Linked DNA regions of Homo sapiens: all the other regions are linked to region 2. Evidence: promoter capture Hi-C in 16 types of primary human blood cells and fetal thymus (Javierre and others, 2016). All regions are on one chromosome and are shown on one strand. The core of a region is centred on a gene start or on the middle of the fragment in contact, and the rest is flanking DNA. Distances in the headings are between cores, read along the strand shown.

The links. The method cuts DNA at HindIII sites, captures the fragments that hold promoters and counts their contacts. A CHiCAGO score of 5 or more calls a contact.
Region 1: the fragment with the promoter of GATAD1 here is called in contact with the fragment with the promoter of CFAP69 in region 2 in 1 of 17 cell types (total CD4 T cells); the score reaches 5.2 in total CD4 T cells.
Region 3: a fragment that was not itself captured here is called in contact with the fragment with the promoter of CFAP69 in region 2 in 1 of 17 cell types (naive CD8 T cells); the score reaches 5.5 in naive CD8 T cells.

What each region holds. Positions count from the first base shown.
Region 1 is chr7:92,445,617-92,449,072 of GRCh38, forward strand. GATAD1 (GATA zinc finger domain containing 1) reads left to right here and starts at 1,866. Exons shown (of 5, transcript NM_021167.5): 1 at 1,866-2,362; 2 at 3,136-3,261. The coding sequence starts at 2,114. RefSeq lists a silencer at 1,786-2,555 and an enhancer at 2,986-3,035. The HindIII fragment of the contact is 4,596 bases long and covers 1-3,456 here.
Region 2 is chr7:90,243,782-90,247,277 of GRCh38, forward strand. It overlaps CFAP69 (cilia and flagella associated protein 69), which reads left to right and starts at 1,393. Exons shown (of 23, transcript NM_001039706.3): 1 at 1,393-1,763. The coding sequence starts at 1,644. LOC107986819 (a long non-coding RNA gene) reads right to left here and starts at 1,350. Exons shown (of 2, transcript XR_007060423.1): 1 at 1,296-1,350; 2 at 1-298. RefSeq lists an enhancer at 2,258-2,770. The HindIII fragment of the contact is 7,562 bases long and covers 1-3,496 here.
Region 3 is chr7:88,204,822-88,208,328 of GRCh38, forward strand. SRI (sorcin) reads right to left here. Exons shown (of 8, transcript NM_003130.4): 8 at 294-1,683. The coding sequence ends at 1,657. Among named protein-coding and RNA genes, the nearest start is that of SRI-AS1, 10 kb to the right of the region's middle. The HindIII fragment of the contact is 1,518 bases long and covers 1,049-2,566 here.

The DNA.
Region 1 (3,456 bases), core at 616-3,115, 2.2 Mb after region 2:
TGACAAGACAAAGGGGCTTGGGCTAAGGCTGGCAAATTGTGGGAAAGTGACGAAGAACCGTATGTAGAAAGTTAATGGAAAATATGGGTTACAAATTTTTGTAAGGTTTTGTTTGTAGATTCTTCTCAGTGGCAACTCTGCCTCTGGCAATAATATTCTCCTCTTCCTGGTACAGAAAGGGCACCTTTCACAAGGGAACTTTTATGTTCCGCTTCAAACAGAAAGAGGGTGGTCAGACAGCCTTCCCTGCATCTGTTTTTGCTCCATTGCCTCTGGCTCAGAAGAATCAGTATGCCAAAGTGGCATATTTTAGGATGGCAGGCTCTAAACACCTTCAGCATTGTTCTAAAGTGAGACAACACTCTTTACCTAGTCTCCTCAGCCACTTTTACAGTTGGCCCTAATCCCCATAACAGTCCTGGAAACTTATTTTTACTGTTAAGGAAACTGAGATTTAGAGGGGAGGTGACTGAGCCACAACCCACACCCCAGAGGGCTGTTCCAAAGCCCTCCTCGAAATTGGTGCCAAGGGCAGCAGCTATAATGACAGCCAGTCCACATAGAAGTGCCTCCGTTGATCACCAATTAACAGTAAAATCTGATAATATCTCATTCCAAGGTTGTTATAAGCACTAAATGTGGTTTTGTGACATAATAGGCGTTTGTTTCTCCCCACTGCTTCCCACCACAATATATTCATCAAGACCTTTCCAAGGATACTAAGTCTAGGAAACCCAGGATCATGAAGAGAGGGCATGTTCTTCCAAGTGAGGCTGAGGAGAGACTTGTCTGGCGAGGCCTGTACTGACTAGTGACATTAAAAGAGGCGATCTGACTTCTCATACTGCTCTTGTCCCAGGCCTGCTGTTTGTCAACTGCTGGGTCCTCAGAGCCAAAACTGTTTTCCAACAGTTTTGAATTGAATAACAGCCAGCTATTCGATTTTCTCCGCATTCTCTAATCGGTATACTCTTCAGAGTCCACAGGATTTGCAACGATATTATCCAACGGCTGAAGAATGTGCGCTTGACATCTTAGGCTGTAAAATGTCTCAATTTCAATTTCTAATACATAGATGTCAGTGGATGGCATTTTCTGAACCCTTTGTCGATGTCCATAAACGGCATGCTCTGAATTCAACTAAACAAAAGTATAGACATGGGGGAGGTGTAGGGCGATGTCCAAAGTATAATTTTTAAGAGTGTAAAGGGTTCCTAAGTAAGATTGCCAGATTTTTTTTTTTTTTTTGAGACGGAGTCTCACTCTATCCCCCAGGCTGGAGTGCAATGGCGCGATCTTGGCTCACTGCAGCCTCCACCTCCCGCGCTCAAGAGATTCTTCTGCCGCAGCCTCCAGGGTAGCTGGGATTACCCCAGAGCCCGCCACTGAGCCCGGCTAATTTTTGTATATTTATTAGAGAAGGGGTTTCACCACGTTGGCCAGGCTGATCTCGAACTCCTGAGCTCAAGTAATCCGCCGGCCTTGGTCTCCCAAAGTGCTGGGATTGCAGGCGTGAGCCACCACGCCAGACCTGGATTGCCAGATTTAGCACATAAAAATACAGGACCCCCAGTTAAACGCCTCTCGGATAAACCATTATTGCATGGGATACACTCACGCTAAAAAAATTGTTCGTCGTTTACCTGAAAGTCACATTTAATTGGGCGTCCTGTATTTTACCCGGCAAATTCTAGGCCTGAGACCAAAAAGTTTGAGAACCCTGCCCCTAGGCGACAGCAAGCGGAACTGCAGCAAGCTCCCAGTAATTCCGGGTGCTGCACTTCCGGTCAGGCGGTCGGGCTGCGGGGCCCTGGGGCCAGCTCACCGCCGGAAGTCTCCGCGTCCCCCCCACCCCGGCCAGATCCCTTTCCCAGTCCTGCTTCCCAGTGCCTCGGGCCAGGGAATCCTGGCCTCCGCCTGCGGAGCCGGCGGAACCCGCTTCCCGCCTCCACGGGGCAGCGCCAGCGGCCTGGTCCTTTCACCGGCAGCTCCGTGCCGACGCTCTCACCGCTCTTCCTATCGCCGGGAGTGGCGGGCCGACCAGGGGGCGGCCGGGCTACCGTCCGCCATTCCCGTGTCTCTGCGCCCGCGGGGGCCGCCCGAGCCGGCCACCATGCCGCTGGGCCTGAAGCCCACCTGCAGCGTATGCAAGACCACGTCGTCCTCCATGTGGAAGAAGGGAGCGCAGGGGGAGATCCTCTGCCATCATTGCACTGGCCGGGGCGGCGCGGGCAGCGGGGGCGCAGGCTCGGGGGCGGCTGGAGGGACTGGGGGCAGCGGCGGCGGCGGCTTCGGCGCGGCGACCTTCGCCAGCACCTCCGCCACCCCTCCGCAGAGCAACGGGGGCGGGGGCGGCAAGCAGGTGAGCTCCTCCGGCCCCTCCCGCCGGCGGAGGCCGACCAGGTGCTAGGCGGGCGGGGACGGGCTGGCTGGGAGCGGGCGGGCGCGGGCTTCCCCGATCGCCGTGCTCCTGCTGGCTGGAACGCCCCTCCCCACCTCCTACTGAGATCTTTCGTTTGGCCCATTCCGAAGCACCTGTTATTGTAAGAAATTCAAAGCAATAAGAACCAAGATGTAAAGCCCTTAAGAAAATCTCAATATACACATGTCTACACAGTCGTATACAGTGTCATGCCACAAATGCAGGCGCTGGACCTCATTCCTTGTTAAAGGTTTTGTCATATCAGGTTATGAAGTAAGATTATTATGTCATTATTGTAAATGGCAGCTTAAGTATTCCGTTGCAGGGGGCGCCATAACCTACTACGTTCTCTGGCCTTAGGGAGTAAAGTTGTTAAGTGTTTTTCTCTATTGTAGACACAACAAATGAATAGTGTTTGTCTTGGTCAAGACTGACTCCTACTCCCGCCTCCTGCCCTATTACAAGCAGCTCACACCTTTTGGAGGCTCTGGAGACGCCTGTCCAGCGAGCTCCGAGATTCCGGGTGCTGAACTTCCGGTTTTACTTAGCCTAGTTGCTGTAATTACTTCTCTTGAAAAGCAAAAGGGCAATCTTAATTGTTAAATGCTCTTATAAAGTACATACTCTGGGATCCTTGTAAGATGATTGTACTGCAACCTTTATGCACTTTTTACTTCTTTCTCTTTTTGTTCTTTAATTTGTTTGTGTAACAGAGTAAGCAGGAAATTCACAGGAGGTCTGCTCGGCTCAGAAACACTAAATACAAATCTGCTCCGGCTGCTGAAAAGAAAGTCTCCACCAAAGGAAAAGGGAGAAGACATATATTTAAATTGAAAAATGTAAGATATTTGTGGACAGTGCCTTTTACTGTAATGACGTTGTGTGTATCCTGCCACTGCCTTCATTTCTCACCATTGAACTTGGACTCTGCCCTTGGTAGCCCTTCCTTAGTATTCTGGGGAATGGTCCAGATTCCCCAAAAGGGAATGAGCTCTGTTGCAGGAGGCTCACTGTTTATAAAGTTAATAATACTC
Region 2 (3,496 bases), core at 143-2,642:
TGCATCCCATGCTCACTGTGGAGTGGAAACTTAACATTTAAATGCATTACAGTCCCTATACATCAAAAGGAGAAGCAGAGACATGAATGTACTAGTGCTCAGTCTCTGTAAACCTGCCAGAACCAGTCCATAGTGGGTGGTCTTTTATCAGGGGAAAGTTACTGAATCGGTCCCTTGTCCAATCAAACCTGCAGTTATGACTTGTGGAACAGGAGGGTCTTGTTAGTCAACATCTGGCCATGGATGAGCTGCAATTATTTCAATATTGCTTATGTCGAGGGCAGTTCTTATTTAACAGCTAGAGAAAAATAAAAACATTGCAGCAGTTAAAACAAAGGTTATTCTTTAAGTGTAGGTGTGAGTGACTTAACTCTTGCCTGGCATGGCCTTAGGTCTTGCTTATAATTTGTTATTGCCACAGAGTCCATTCTGTTAGCCTTCTGATCTCCATTTTAACATTAATGCTGGTCAGTTGTTGAGTCTAAGCCCTCAAAGGGAGGGGGAGCCGAGCTTGGTGGCATGTGCACCTGTACTCCCAGCTATTCCCGAGGCTGAAGCGGGAGGATCGTTTGAGCCAGAGGTTGGAGGTTGCAGAGCTACGATCCTGCCACTGCACTCCAGCCTGGGGGACACAGTGAGACCCTGTCTCAAAAAACCAGGGGTGAGGGGGACGTGAAAAGGGAGGAGGTAGGGGGGTATAGCGAGGCGTGTCCGTCCTTCCGTCCCGTCAGGGCGAGGAATTCAGCTTTTAAGGTTTATCGGGGGTCCTCTTGGCCAAAAGGGGGTCCGTTCAGTCGGTTGTGGGGCTTAGGATTTAATTTTTAGTTCTCAAACAGTAATAAAGATAATGATAATCTTGACCATACGGGATGCTGTGCCAAGCACCACTTAACAAACACTGTCATCTCATTCAATCCTCACAACAGTCCTATTTTACAGATGAGAAAAGTGAGACTTCAAGGGATAACTCGCTCTAGATTCAATAAACTGACTCAAAAGCCTTTTAACATTCTGTACAATACCTTTTATGTTTGTTTATTTAACTGTCCAGTTGGGCCACTAAAGTACAGATAAAAGCTGGGGAATGTAAGCGAGACTGGTCACTTCCCTGGGGTGAGAGAAACGCTTTCAACACTATCCGTCCATCGTATCACGCCTAACGTATCCCATAGACATCCCTCACCCCTCCACCCACTCATGCCTGTTTGAAGCAAGACTATGAAGACCGAAACACACCGGGAGCCTAAGGCACCACTCCCCGCTACCTACCGAGGTGCATCCTGCAGGCTCCTTACCGCAAGCCTGCAAACTCGCCCTGCCGGGCGCGGAGTGCAATTAGGCTTTGGGGTGGTTTGGCTCTCCGGCTTTCCGTAGCCTCTGGCCCCGCCCCCTAGCAACGCGCTGGCTTGTGTTAACAACCGGCCCGGGATCAGAGGTCTGGGTCAACTGGGGGGCGGCAGCGGCGCTAAGCGGACTGTATGGCGGTGGCCTAGGCCCCTGGCGGAATTTTGGGACCTTTCGCGACTCTAGCGACTCTCAGGCTGCCTTCCCTTCTCGGTGGCGGGGCCTCTTTGGGCCCAGCGGCTGCGGGCGCACTGTAGGACAGGAAGATCCCCCCACTCTCCACCCCGCCGCCACCGGCCATGTGGACAGAGGAAGCCGGGGCGACCGCCGAGGCCCAGGAATCCGGCATCAGGAACAAGTCTAGCAGTTCCAGTCAAATCCCGGTGGTTGGGGTGGTGACGGAGGACGATGAGGCGCAGGTATGAGCAGGTGTCTGTGCTTTCAGAGGTGGAGGGGGTGGGAGTGAAGTCTCGAGACGGGGTCCAGACCTGGGGGTGGCAAGGGTGGAACTGGGGACAGGAGTGAAGATGGGGGAAGCCGCGGGATGGAGATTCCAAGCGCAGAGCTAATCCTGATCCCCCACCCCCTGCGAACTGCACCGGTTGCGAGGGGCTGGCTGTTGTCAACCATCCTGTCTGGGGACCAGCGCTGTGTGGTCCTCCTGGAGGGTCCTAGCAAACTGAGTAGGCGGGGTTTTGCCGCGCTTCTTCGAAAAGTGGTCATAGAGCTACAGGGAGGAAAGGAATCATTCTTAGCAAAATCTTGATTTGATGACCTGATCAGTTTGAACTGAACTTTTTAATACGTAGATCCCTGTTACCGAGTGATGTTCTTGATATAGATGTAAATTTTCCCATGCTTAAATTTGCTGCGACTAAAGCCTGCACCCAGAGGGGAGGAAAACGCTGTTAAATTAGAAATTAAGCATTTTTAAAATATGAAATTGGAAGCTGGTTGTTACACGTTGGGTCGGAGAGAACCGGGAGAGAATAGAGTTGATTTGTTTTATTATGCTTGTACTGTATTTGGTTTTGGGTTTGCTTTTGTTATGAATACAAAATTCACTCTTGGAAGTTGATCTGTTGAGAAATTCCATTTGAGGCCCTTGGATCTCTATTCGAGGCGGAGGTGTTTAGAAACCCCAAGTTGTTTGTTTCCTACTAGGATTCCATTGATCCCCCAGAGAGCCCTGATCGTGCCTTAAAAGCCGCGAATTCCTGGAGGAACCCTGTCCTGCCTCACACTAATGGTGTGGGGCCACTGTGGGAATTCCTGTTGAGGCTTCTCAAATCTCAGGCTGCGTCAGGAACCCTGTCTCTTGCGTTCACATCCTGGAGCCTTGGAGAGTTCCTTGGGAGTGGTCAGTTGACTGGGGAATAGAGTTGAGCTCTCTGAGGTCTGACATTTACGCAGTAACCTGCGGAGCAACAGCATTTTGCATGAGGAGAAATAGGTGTTAGGGGAATTTGCCTAATCGATTTTGTGGACCTATTCCCCTCTGGGCGGGGAGAATTTTGAGGAACAATAGCTCTCCACTCCCTGGGCTGCAAGAAAGATCAACAATACAGCCATACTCCCAGGCAAGGGGCAAAACTGAAAAGTATGTGAATTTGATAACTGATGGCTCTCAGTCTTCCTTTACTTGCTCCAAGAAAAATTGGGCAACGTTATACAAGGCAAGCAAGCGTGGATTTTTTTTTTTTTTTAGGGAAAAATACTTTTTAAAAGCCATTGCCAAAATAGTCCAAAACATACCAAATGAAACAAGTATACCTGTGTATATGTGTGTGCATTTTCTCCCCATTTTAATTTTCTTTCTTTTCTTTCATTACTACTGCTCTTTCCAGGGCCTAGGATTCTCTTCCAAGAAGAAAGCAATCAATTTGCATTAATTCATGTTTCTGACTTGTTAATTACTAATTCTAAGAGTAGTAACATTTTCGAAGTACTGAGGAAAAAGGTAGTTTCTCCCCAAAGAAATAGAATAGGAACTTTTTATAGCTGGGAGAAATCTTAGTGATCCTCAGCCTTCTTGTTTTTTGCCTGTGGTTGTTTTTACAAATGAGAACCCTAAGTTCATGAGAAGTTAACTGAGTTACTCAGTTTCTTTACTCATAGAATGGGGGTCTAGAGACCCTGGAACGAAAAAATG
Region 3 (3,507 bases), core at 558-3,057, 2.0 Mb before region 2:
GTTGAAACCAAACAGCAGGTGCTAGGACACTGAAGGTGAGCTCCCTGCCTCCTAATCCTCTGAGCCCCTTTTTGGCCCTTTTCTAGATAGCCCAGACTCAAGCAGAGCTTTATGGCCTCACAGACAATATACGGAGATGATGCAATCTATAGTCACTGTGTAATATATAGCAGGCTGCTTCACATTCTGATATGTAACCTGGGCTAACTAACTTGCCATAGTTATATGTTAGGTTTGAATAATATATATTTTAACAATATTTTAAAAAATTAATAGTGAAATGAGGCTAAAGATGCTTAGAGAAAATGTTTTATTTTCATTAGTTGACAACTAGTTGTTCAGTTGAATGGTAAGTTTCACACTGCATCCTAAAATAAGACAGATACTCTGCTGGCAAGTAGAAAATAGACTAATTTCATTTTTTATCTGTTAAGCTCTCTTGATAAAAAAGGCAAACCAGGCCAGTTTTAAATTTAAGAAACAGAAACATTGTCAGTGCTTCTTGTATCAACACACTTCATATTCAGAACTACTCCCAAGAGATAACATATTATCTCCTTTTCAAAGATGGGGAAACTGAAACTGGGCATTATCTATAATGACCAAACCACATAGTAAGAGGCACAAGCCAGCATTAGAATTCAGATCTTACTTGAAAGTGTACAGCTTAAAATTTTTTAAAAAATTCCTTCCATTATAAATGTAGTACCTGCTTACTGGAGAATGTTTGGAAAAGCAGTAAGAAGGAAGAAGATGAACTCATGATCCTGACTCCCAGTGGTAGCCAGATCAATGTTTTGGTACATACTTTCCGATACTCTGCTATGTGTATTTTTTAAAGTGTGAATACATGGTATATCAAAATGGATGTATCAGTATTTTAAAAACTAAAATCTGATTTTAAAAGGAAAGCATATAGAAAATCTGAAAAATACTGATATAAAGAAAATTAAAGTCATCTAGAATTCCATTCATCCAAAATAAACATTGTTAATATTTCCATATATTCCCTTAGTCTTTTTCTATCAATTTTCTTTTTATATAGTTAAGCTTATAATGTACAAGATTTTTAAGGAGAGTTAACAAAGGTTTAAATAGATGACAAAAAGGGACTTGGTGACAGATAGTATTTGCCAATCAAATTATTCAACAGGTTTTGAAGGGCGTGTGCTAAACTTCTAAGGTGAATCCTGACGTGGATTACTGGATTACCTTTTTTGTTGTTTTATTTCACCCAAGTGCGTCTATGTCATTTACCTAAGTTTTTATGTGTGGAGTATTCTTTGTAGGAGAGGAAAGATAACAGCTGTAGTCTGATTAACAGTTTTTAGTGTCTCACAATGAAAAATAAATAATGTGACTTAAACATTTTGCATACTTAAATTTACATAGAGTTTTAGCAAGAAAATAAGGCATGACTGATAATGGCTCAGGAAAGTTCTAAATGGTGTAACAGACTAGATCTTATTAAAGTTCCAAAGAATTTATTATCAAAACTAAAACAAAACTTCAGTTGTACATAAAGTAATAAACTTTACAACAGCTGTTAAGAGAAAGTCGTGATGTAAGTTTATACATATTACCGAAGGCAAAGAGGACAAGCAAAGGAGAGCTCCAGTTGGAATGTTGATTACATTCATGCAGCTTCCTCTTGATTTAAACACTCATGACACATTGAATGAACTGAAAGAAAAATCAGCATTATATGACAGACCTCAAAGCACTTATACGGCACAGCCTATTTCTGGCAGCTTACATTTGGTTTTCTAATTTGAACACGGGTAAAACAACCCCTACAACTTTCTAAGATATGAGTAAATGATAGATGGAAAAGTTTCCTTTTTTTAGGGAAGCAGTCTAATATAAAATCCACAGGGTTTCTCACATCAAAACTTCTTAGAGAAAGCAGATATAACTTCAATGGATAAATAATTTAAATAATTATTTGAATAATTATTTAAATTCCAAATAATATCCAAGACTAGAAATGGCCGTGGTCAAAGACACTTACCACAAACACAAACAACTGGAGTTTATACTGTTGTATTACGTGGGGATTTCCAAACCACACAGTATTACCCCATTACTCTAATGGAACACCTTAAACAGTTTATTGCCTTAAAATCTGCTTTATTAAAACAAATTGTAGCATGCAAGTGTATGTATGCACAGAAACAGAACAGCTAACCCTTCAGATACCTGAGATTAGAAATACCAGTATTTGCTGTGAAATGTTGGCTTCCCCGCTAAACATAAAGCAATAGATTCTGCTCTATCAGTGTTCCCTACACTACTAAGGTATTGTGCACTGCTAACCCTTGCAGCTCTATTGCAAGGTCAAGGTGATTATCCCTATTTTAGAGAAAAGGAAAATAAGGATCAGGATGTTTAGAAATCTTTTAAGTAGCCCCATCTGAAGTCAAAGCCCATGGTCTTTCTTTCCATTCCCCAGGCAGCCTTCTGATCTTTAGAAACAGCAAGGGGACTGTCAACTAAGAAGTTAACGCATGTTAAAGAGAACACACCCTTAAGCAGGTAAAATAAGCATATTCACACACACATACTAAGCTTTTAAAAGTGTACTTATAACTGCAGCAGCTGCTAAACCAAAAATACATGCATCTTATATTTTGTAATGGAGAATGGAATATTCAGTGATTACAGTCATTTCAATTCTACAAGTTTTTTTGTTTGTTTGTTTTTTGTTTTTAAATCAATGGCTGAGCAAAAACTGAAGAAACAAGTAACCAATCTCTCTAGCTTTGTTATATACATCCAGCTAATGCCATCAAAGATGGCACTAGGTTATGTTCACACTGATTACATGGCCTTACCCTACCCTTGTTTAGTTTGGCTGTTTAGTAAATAACTTGTTTTAAATTGTGATTTAGCCGGGAGCAGTGGCTCACGCCTGTAATCCCAGCACTTTGGGAGGCCTAAGCGGACAGATCACAAGGACAGGAGATCGAGACCATCCTGGCTAACACAGTGAAACCCCGTCTCTACTAAAAATACAAAAAAACTTAACCAGGTATGGTGGCACATGCCTATAGTCCCTCAGGAGGCTGAGGCAGGAGAATCGCTAGAACCCGAGACGTGGAGGTTGCAGTGAGCTGACATTGCGCCACTGCACTCCAACCTGGGCAACAGAGCGAGACTCCATCTCAAAAAAAAAAAAAAAATTGTGATTTAAGTTGTTGCCTGCCTTATGCCCTCAATGAAGAACATAGGTATGCAAAACTATTGAGCTGTTATCTATTCTCAGTGACTGACATGATTTGTTTACAGAAGACAAAAGCAGATAGTATATCTGCATAGTGTTTTTCAAGGGCATTTCTAATAGAAATCTTACAATGGCTCAGTGAAAAAGGCATTACTACTATATCTTCTTTATTCATATAGTGTCACAGCAATTAAGAAACCTGCTTAAGTGACCCAGCTAATAAATACAACAAGCTGGGTCTTGAACCCAGGTCTCTGAATGCAAATCAAATCATGGTCTCACTA